2 separate regions of the Homo sapiens genome follow, and region 1 is linked to region 2. The links are contacts of gene promoters, found by promoter capture Hi-C in blood cells and fetal thymus (Javierre and others, 2016). All regions are on one chromosome and are shown on one strand. The core of a region is centred on a gene start or on the middle of the fragment in contact, and the rest is flanking DNA. Distances in the headings are between cores, read along the strand shown.

Region 1 (4,876 bases), core at 1,644-4,143, 91 kb before region 2:
TACTAAAAAAAAAAAATACAAAACATTAGCTGGGCGTGGTGGCGGGCACCTGTAGTCCCAGCTACTCGGGAGGCTGAGGCAGGAGAATGGCATGAACCTGGGAGGCGGAGCTTGCAGTGAGCCAAGATCGTGACATTGCACTCCAGCCTAGGTGACACAGCGAGACTCTGTCTCAAAGAAACAAACAAACAAAAATCAGTTTTCCAGGTGTGCCATCAGCAAAATCCGTGAAGTAAGGACCTCCAAAAATTCTCTCCTCCATAATAGCAGTGAGAAAACTGGCAAAAATGGTCAGAATCAACTTTTTCAGAACTCTGGAAATTAGCCAGAGGCTTAGGGCAGTCGGGAGAATGTTTATTCAAGAAAAACAGCAGAATCTTGGTAAGAACAGTGGCATTTTCACTTGCCCTAGTTAAGATCGCACACTCTGCAGTTCCGTGGTGGCCTTGAAAATTCACATTCTGCACTCCTGATGAAAAACAGCAGCCTGGCGCCACAAGAGGGAGCAGAATGAGGCTGGAGCTCCTTTCAAGTCTCATGCCCAAAGAACTGTCATTATCTGACCGGTCTGGTGGTTCCCTGATAAGGCTCCTCTTGCAAGGTTGGCTGTAATTGACTTGGTTCAGCCTTTGCCTGGTGTGAAAAGTCTTTTCATCAGGGTGTAATTGCAGGCAACTGACTAACTTTGCAGCTTCCTGAGGCAGTGGATAACAGGTGGGGAAAGGAATAGACCTACCGAAAAGCTTAAAAGGAAAAGCTGGGCCGAGTACAGTGGCTCACGCCTGTACTTTGGGAGGCTGAGGCAGGACTGCTTGAGGCCAGGAGTTCACAACCAACCTGGTCAACATAGCAAGACCCTGTCCCTATTTTCTTTCTTTCTCTCTCTCTCTCTCTCTCCCTCCCTCCCTCCTTCCCCCTTCCTCTCTCTCTCCTCTCTCTCTCTCCTCTCTCTCTCTCTCTCTCTCTTTAAAGGCAAGATCTCACTATGCTGCACAGGCTAGTTTCAAACTCCTGAATGCAGGCGATCCTCCCGCCTCAGCTTCTCAAAGTGTTAGGATTACAGACGTGAGCCACTGTGCTCAACTTCTATTACATTTAAACAACAAAAGTAAATAAGTAAAAGGAAAAGCTGAAGCATGATGTGTCCACAGGGCTTTGAAAAGATCTGACATATTCCTGGGAGTCTAGAAGGTCACAAGCATGGATAGAGCTGTGTGCACGCCCAGAGCTGTGTCATGCTCAGGAAAACCGATAAAGCCCTAAACTCTCTGGCTGACCTCATCTCTGCACAGACACTAAGGCAGAGTTGACAACTGCCTGGCTGAGTGTAAAGGCATGCTCACACACGCACACAGAGCCCCTTAGCAGAGAAGGGGAGATTTTTTGGTGACAAATGCTTAAGGAAATCTTTGTTCAATCATTAACTAATCACTAAGCTAAGCAGAGACTATAAGTGGTCACACGTGACAGGGAATACAGACTTTCCAGAACTAGCTAAGAAAATGTATTAATGAAACAAAGAACAACTACAACAAACAGCAACAACACAAACTCTGGGAGGTATGTCAATCTGATTTGCAAAGTTGCCACATTAAATCATACAAAAAGTATAGTTTTTAATAAAAAAAAAATTATAAGACATGCCAAGAAATACAAATGTATGGCCCAAACACAGGAATAAAAAAGCAATAAATAGAGATTGTCCCCAAGAAGCCCAGATATTGGACTAACTAGACAAAGGCCTCACATCAGCTATGCTAAACATGTTCAAAGAACTAAAGGAAGTCACATCAAAAGAACTAAAGAAAAGCATGAGATGATCTCTCACCAAATAAAAGATACAAATAGACAAAAATCATTATCATTATTATTTTTGAAGACAGAGTTTCGCTTTGTTGCCCAGCCTGGAGTGCAGTGGCACAATCTCAACTTACTGCAACCTCTGCCTCCTGGGTTCAAGCAATTCTCTTGCCTCAGCCTCCCAAGTAGCTGAGATTGCAGGTGCACTCCACCTCACCTGGCTGATTTTTTTTTTTTTTTTTTTAAGTAGAGATGGGGTTTGACCATGTTGCCCATGCTGGTCTTGAACTCCTGAGTTCAGGTAATCCACCCACCTCAGCCTCCCAAAGTGCTAGGTTTCCAGGCACGAGCCACCACATCCAAATGAGACAGAAATTATTTTTAAAAGAAAGAACAAAATAGAAATTCTGGAGTCATTAACCAAAATAAAAATATAGCAGAGAAGCTACAGGATGGCATATTTGAGCAGGCAGAAGAATCACTGAACGTGAAGATGGGTCAATTGAGATTATGTAGTCTGAGGAATAGAAAGAAAAGAGAACAAAGAAAAACAGAGTCTAAAGACCTATGGGACACCATCAAGCATGCCAACATACACATAATGGAAGTCACAGAAGGAGAGGAGAGAGAGAAAGGGTAGGAAAGAATATTTGAATAAATAATGGTTGTAAATATTCCATATTTGATTTTTAAAAAAATAATCTACACATCCAAGAAACTCAATGAATTCCAAGTGGGATAAACTCAAAGATATCCATACCTAGAAACATCATAATCAAAGCTGAAGACAGAGACTCTTGAAAGCAGCAAGAGAAAAATGACTCATCACATACACAGGATCATCAATAAGATCAATAGCTTAAGTTGAGTGTGGTGGCTCACGCCTGAAATCCCAGCACTTTGGGAGGCCAAGGTGGGAGAATTGCCTGAGGCCAGGAGTTCAAGACCAGCCTGGGCAACATAGCAAGACCCTATCTCTACAAAAATTAAAAAATAAAAAAGTAGCTGAGTGTGGTGACGTGCACCTGTTGTCCCAACCACTCAGGAGGCTGAGGTGGGAGGATTGCTTGAGCCCAGGAGTTTGAGGCTGCAGTGAGCTATGATCACAGCACTGCGCTCCAGCTTGGGTGACAGAGTGAGACCTTGTCTCTAAAAAAAAAAGAAAAGAAAAAAAAAAAAGAAATGATAAGGGAATTAAAATGGTACACTAGAAAATACGTGGCACAAAAGAAGGCAGTTATGGAGAAAGAACAAAAAGATGTAAGACATATAGGAAAAAAAAGCAAAATGGCAGATGTAAACTTTATCAGTAATTAAATTAATGTAAATAGATTAAACTCTCCACTTAAAACCAGAGATAGATAGAATAGATTAAAAGGAAAAAACCACGATCCAAGCTGGGCGTGGTGGCTCATGCCTGTAATCCCAGCACTTTGGGAGGCCGAGGTGGGCATATCGCTTGAGGCCAGGAGTTCGAGATCAGCCTGGCCAACATGGTAAAACCTCATCTCTCCAAAACTACAAAAATTAGCTGGGCGTGGTGGCATGCACCTGTAATCCCAGCTACTCGGGAGGCTGAGGCAGGAGAATCGCTTGAACCCAGGAGGCGGAGGTTGCAGTGAGCCGAGATCACGCCACTGCACTCCAGCCTGGGTGACAGAGTAAGACTCTGTCTCAAAAACAAAACAAAACAAAACTATGATTCACTTGTATGCCAGCTACATGTAATCTACAAGAGACATACTTTATTTTTTTATTTTATTTTTATTTTTTTGAGATGGAGTCTCGCTCTGTCACCCAGGCTGGAGTTCAGTGGCATGATCTCGACTCACTGCAATCTCAGCTTCCCAGGTTCAAGCGATTCTCGTGCCTTAGCCTCCCAAGTAGCTGGGATTACAGGTGCGTGTCACCACACCTGGCTACAAGACATACTTTAGATTCAAAGAGGCAAACAGGTTAAAAGTAAAAGGATGGGGAAAGATATACCATGCAAATGGTAACCAAAGAGGGCTGGAGTGCTTATCTCAAAGACAGACTTTGAGATGAAAAATGCTACTAGAGACAAATGAAGACATCATATACTGATAAAAGGGTTAATTCACTAGGAAAACTTAACAATTATAAGCATGTGCATGTACCTAATAACATAGCCTTAACATACAGGAAGCAAAACCTGACAAAATTGAAGGAGAAATAGACAATTCAACAATAATAATGGCAGACATCAGTATCCTACTTTCAATAATAGACATAATTACTACGTGAAAGATCAACAAGGAAATAGAAGTCTTGACCAACACTATAGACAAGACCTCCCAGACAACTATAGAAAACTCCACTGGACAGGCCAGGTGCGGTGGCTCACGCCTGTTATCCCAGCACTTTGGGAGGCCGAGGCGGGCGGATCACGAGGTCAGGAGATCGAGACCATCCTGGCTAACACGGTGAAACCCCGTCTCTACTAAAAAAAAATACAAAAAATTAGCCCAGCGTGGTGGCAGGCACCTGTAGTCCCAGCTACTCGGAAGGCTGAGGCAGGAGAATGGCGTGAACCCAGGAGGCAGAGCTTGCAGTGGGCCAAGATCGCGCCACTGCACTCCAGCCTGGGCGAAAGAGCAAGACTCCGTCCCAAAAAAAAAAAAAGGAAAACTACACCGGACAATAAGCAGAATATAGTCTTCTCAAGTGCTCATGGAACATTCTCCAGGATAGACAATATGCTAGGCCATAAAACAAGTCTCAATAAATTTTAAAAGACTGAAATCAGGCCAGGTGTGGTGGTTCATCCCAGCACTTTGGGAGGCCAGCCAAGGCAGGCGGATCCCTTGAGCCCAGGAGTTTAAGACCAGCCTGGGCAGCATGATGAAACCTTGTGACTAAAAAAACTACAAAAATTAGCCGAGTGTGGTGGCACATGCCTGTAGGCTCAGCTACTCGGGAGGCTGGGGTGGAAGAATTGCTCGGGCCCAGGAGGTCGAGGCTGCAATGAGCAGTGATTACACCACTGCACTCCAGCCTGGGCAACAGAGTAAAACTCTGTCTCAAAAAAAAAAAAAAAAAAAGAAAAAGAAAATGA
Region 2 (5,164 bases), core at 915-3,414:
TGCCATGTCGCCCAGGTTGGTCTTGAACTCCTGGTTCAAGCGATCTGTCCGCTTTGGCCTCCCAAAGTGCTGGAATTATAGGCATGAGCCACCACGCCCGGACCACCACCCTTTTAAAACACAATCAAACGGTGGTGTCGTGTTTAACTTGCTGAGAAGGGTAAGTTACCTGCAGGTAGAGTTGGGCTTCAAACTAGGCAGTGACCCCATATGGTCTGAAATAAAACTGACCTGATAACCTCATCTCTTTACACAAAACACTAGCCAACAGTCATCATTCCCACCAGATGCTATTTGTCCCCACAGGTGGTCACTACCTCAAAGGTGACAGCCTGTTTTGGGTAATGGGGACACAAATATGACCCCCATCTCTGCCTACCCCCAACTCATTGAAAGACTCTCCCTGTACACCAACCACCGTCTGGCACCACGGCTGGCAGAGCATTAGAGACGGCTGGTGTCTTAGCCCACCTTAACAGGCCTGTCCCATGCAACCTCACTTCCACATGTGACCTGATTCTCAGTCAGCTGAAAAAAGATGACTGGGTTAAAGTAACAACATAACTCAAGACCTAGCTTGTATCAAACACAAGCCCCCCCAATCTCCTTCAAGTATCACAAAGGAGTAACACAACTACCTCTCACACTTGGTGTAAAAATTTAAGTAAGTGGGCAGCAGAGATTGGCACCTATCCATCGAAAACCTGCTGTTTAAGGTTTTTCATTAATCACCTTCTTTCCCCTGTATGTACAAGCTGGGAAACAGACCTATGACAGTCCAACTTAAACTCTGTGACTTTACAATGGTGGTAATGCGATATACATTCAGTAGAAGCCCTGCTTCAAATTTTGATCTTGGCGGGGCACAGTGGCTCACACCTGTAATCCCAGCACTCTGGGAGGCGGAGGCAGGTGGATCATCTGAGGTTAGGAGTTCGAGACCAGCCTGGCCAACATGGTGAAACTCTGTCTCTACCAAAAACACAAAAATCAGCTAGGCATGGTGGCGCGCCCAGCTACTTTGAGGCAGGGGGATCGCTTGAACCTGGGAGGCGGTAATTGCAGTGAGCCAAGATCGCACCACTGCAATCCAGCCTGGGCGACAGAGCCAGACTGTCTCAAAGAAAAAAAAAAATTTTTTTAAATATTTTTCTGGATTAGATAGGTATGATACCTTCTGACACTGGCCAGCGACCACAGGATCACGAGGTAAACGACCATACTACACAGTGTGCCGTGCTCGATACATTACATGCAAATATCCAGCACTTTATTACAAAATGGATTTTGTGTTAAGATTTTGCACAACTGCAGAGAACCTAAACAGTGTTTATGGGACGTGTGTTTTGAGGCTTTCGCGGAGTGGAGATTCCGTTCCGACAATTTACTATATTATACGAAAGAAAACTGAACTCAGGGCGGCCTCTGAGATGATCGCGATTAGCTAAAGATGGTCCTAGAAATTCCAGGGCCTCAACGTGCCCCCCACAGGTCTTTCTCATGGGAAACAGGATGAAACCACTGCTCCCAGAGGGCCAGGCACACACCCAGACGGCCTAACCGTCTCCTGCCTGACATTCCGGGGAAGACGCTCCCGGAGCGGTGCCAGGCTAGGCACCGCTCTTCTTGAACCTTCGGAGCAACCACTTACATTTGGCATCCTTTCGTCGGGCTGTGAGCAGGAAGTCCTTGATTTCCTCAATTTTCCGAGGCTGCAACACAAAGGAAGCGGGTGAACAGAGAGGAAAGAGACACGTCTCCCGGCGATGGCCCAGTCCACCAGCTTCTCCCGGCCTCAGGAGATCCTTGGGAGGCTCTCTCGCCCTCGCCCCGGGGCCCCACGAGCCCACCCCGGGAAGGCGCCAGGCAGGGACTGTACTCACCATGGCGACGAGGCGCGCTGGGCTCTGGCGCGGACCAGGACCTGCGGGAAACAGTCCTCGGCGTTAACACGGCGCGGGGGCTGGCAGCGAACCCCGTTTTCCCGCTCTCCCCCGAAATATCGGCCCCATCGCACTCCCCTTCTCCTCCCCGACACCCTCCACGCGGACCTGGGGTCCCCAGATTTCACCTGGCAGTGGATTGCCCCAGATTACCTTTCTCACCCACGTATCACCCTAGAGACACTCACAGCAAGCAGCAACCGGGGAAAAGGACGAAAAAGAACGAGACTTCCGTTTCCGGGCAGTTAAACCCTCCCAACGGAGGAAACTGGGTACGGTGCCTGCCGAGGATCAAGACTCATGTAGGCGTTCGCACTTCCAATTTCAGCAGCCCTGCCCCCTTGTGGTCGAAGTCAACAGTGCAGCTCCAAGAATGGAATGGACCATCCTGGCTGCCGCCCTCCCTCCGCCTCCCTCCTCTCGCTCCTCCCCATCCCTTCCTCCTAGGACCCCCGCCTCTTCCCCGTCCACCCCTTCCTGTCTTCCCCCGCAACCCCTCAGACCCCAGCCTGGCTTTGCTAGGTTTTAGCTCAGATTCAGTTTGAAGAGCTAACGCTTATTCTCCACGGCTTTCATTGGACCTGCGCAGGGGCATCCACACAGAAAATTCTTCATTCAATGGCAGGGACCCTCGTGTGCACCTTGTAGAACCTGTTGTTCTGGCGCCTCACGTTTTCTTCCCGTCTCCTTTTTGGCACCTGAACCTGTCATGACCAGGGCCCTGGGCTCTTCTTTCCATAAGAGGGAGCGTTCCTGCTTGCTGCTTCCAATTCCCTTAGGAATTGGTGTACAATGAAAGCAAGTTAAGGCCGGGCGCGGTGGCTCACGCTTATAACCCCAGCACTGGGGGAGGCCGAGGCAGGCGGATCGCTTGAGGCCAGGAGTTCGAGAGCAGCCTGGGCAACCTAGTAAGACCTCCCCCCCCCCATCTCTAGCAATAATGATAATAATAATAATACTTCCAAAAGCTGTCGCAGCGCTGCCCCTGGCTAAGTGTCTCACCCCTAGGGCTGATGGTGAGTGGGAGTGCTCCTGCTCTTGCGGGGTCTCACCGCGGCCCCAGAGGGGAGAGGTGGACTCAGGAGTTGAACCCCTGCTGGGCAGATTCCCCAGCCCAGGCTCCGGCCACTTCCTGGGGAGGCTTGGGAAGCCTGGGGAGGGCAGCGTTCCTTTCTCCCCCTAACATCCTTTAGGTTAGACTCTGAGCAACCTGCGGTTATCGATTTTATTTTTATCCTCCATTTTTATTTTATCTCCAACCTCCCTACAAATGTCTACATTTTATTATATTTGTTTCCCCAAAATTTAATAACCACACGGCAGAATGTAATTGCTTCGTGCTTATTATTACAGAGCGGCCCTCCTGAAGGGAAAGAACACTTTGCCATGAGCTTTACTTAGAACTTATTTAACTTAACCTTCCTTTCTTCCTCCCTCCTGCCCTTCCATTAACAAGCTCAGGCTGAGCACCTTCCTGGGGGTGCTGGAGATACAGGAACCAATAGACCTTGCTGCAGAGAGATCACAAAAATATTGTAATAACACTGAAGAGTCTTTTAAAGAAGCTGAACGATGTCTCTGCAACTGTAAATGTGTCGGGGTTCTAGCAGTGGGAAAAGTTAATTGGCAGAAGCCTAATTTTAGATGTCTGAAGGTCGGATCCGATCTGAGAAGCACGAGTGCTTCAGCTCTGACCTGAGAAGGATTTTCCCATACCTCAGAGCCCGGCTTTGCCAGCCCTTCCCATCTCAGGCGATGCCTTTCTGGTCTTTTCTACCCCACTGCTCCTCCACAAGCAACCACCCTTTCAGCCAAGCCGAGGGGCACTTTTGGGCACTTTCTGCCCTCCAGGTATTTGCTCTGCTGTCCACTCTGATGCCAAGTGCCACTGGTCCTTCCGAGCTCAGCTCCCGCCTCCCCTTTTTCAGGCAGGACCCTTCACCCTTGACTTATGTTGCTTGCCGCTCATACAGTGGTTCCTTGCAATCACTTCTCCGTAGGCTGCGTGGAGGTGTTTAACTTTTCATACATGCGCACCACTCTTTTTATTTTTAATTTTTTAAAACTTTTTTAGAGACATGGTCTCCCTAGGTTGCCCAAGCTGGTTTCGAACTCCTGGGCTCAAGGGATCCTCCTGCCTCGGCCCCCCAAAGTGCTAGGATAACAGGTGTGAGCCACTACGCCCCACCTTACCACTTTTCCTTGAAGGCAAGGACAGGGCTCAGCATTCTGTCGATAACTCTCGAAGTGCAGTACCCATCTGTACAGTAAGTGCTCAATGCTAACATTGCAGGATGATCCGGCTGGATGCGGCATCTGAGATCACTCACCATATAAAGGGGTGGTGGATGGAGGGAGGAATTCAGGGAGAGCCAGAAGGAGACACTGACGTGCCTGAAGCAGTGCCTGGCATGTAGTAGGTCCAAAAACTATTTGTTGAATGAATGACTGGTGCTTCTTGCCTCACTGCCGGCCCGACAGGACAAGGACGGGGATAGAAGGAGGAGCTGCACCTCCCTTTTGGCAGCGATCCCAGGGAGACAGATGTTCACCCTCTTGAGTTGTATAATTTAAGGGACCATAGACGTGTAGTAGCAAAACACAATGGCAAATTTGTTCAAGTACCAAAGACCTCCAGCTCCCCAAGGGGGACAAATAGCAAAATAAGCTGCAGCTACTAAAAGTGAGGCAAGGTGCCCAGAGGGCACGCTTCCCTGCTCCATGGGAAGATGAGCCCCAAATGTCCTGGAGTGGCCGGGGACTGTCAGAGACCAAGGGGGGCAGAGCCTAGGCCCTGAGTGCCACAGCCTGAGACCTTGAGCAGATGCTGACCTGGACATGAGCCTCCCTGATGACTCCCATATACACATGAAACAAAACTCTCCAGGGCCTAGGGTGGATCCTGCAGGAGAGGAAAGCCCCGGACTCGAGGGCAGGATGGCCCAGGCTGCCTGTTATGGTCGCTCTGGCCATTGGTAGGCTGGAATGTCCAGTGCTGGCAGCTGTGGGATGGTGAGGGCTATTGCTGTTGTCAAGAGGCGGTAGGGAGGGTCTCAAGCAGTGTGTTGCAGCATGGCTGGAGGCAGGAGAGGCTCAGAGGGCATGTCCGGAGCTACAGGACACAATCCAACCCTTTTCCTTCCTTCCCTTCCCTCACTCTGCTGGCTCTGGGCAGAGAGGGCCTCAGAAGTCACCGGGCCTCCCCTCCTCCCTCCAGCAGC

The links. Contacts are between HindIII fragments. The CHiCAGO score rates a contact against its expected background, and 5 or more counts as called.
Region 1: a contact is called between a fragment that was not itself captured here and the fragment with the promoter of RPL38 in region 2, in 2 of 17 cell types (erythroblasts and megakaryocytes). The highest score is 6.7, in erythroblasts.

Annotation. Positions count from the first base shown.
Region 1 is chr17:74,292,402-74,297,277 of GRCh38, reverse strand. All of the region lies in intron 6 of DNAI2 (dynein axonemal intermediate chain 2), which reads right to left. Among named protein-coding and RNA genes, the nearest start is that of DNAI2, 21 kb to the right of the region's middle. RefSeq lists a silencer at 483-717. The HindIII fragment of the contact is 4,296 bases long and covers 746-4,876 here.
Region 2 is chr17:74,200,678-74,205,841 of GRCh38, reverse strand. It overlaps RPL38 (ribosomal protein L38), which reads right to left and starts at 2,164. Exons shown (of 5, transcript NM_000999.4): 1 at 2,097-2,164; 2 at 1,884-1,924; 3 at 1,652-1,712. The coding sequence starts at 1,886. RefSeq lists enhancers at 408-911, 912-1,416, 2,425-2,928. The HindIII fragment of the contact is 15,941 bases long and covers 1-5,164 here.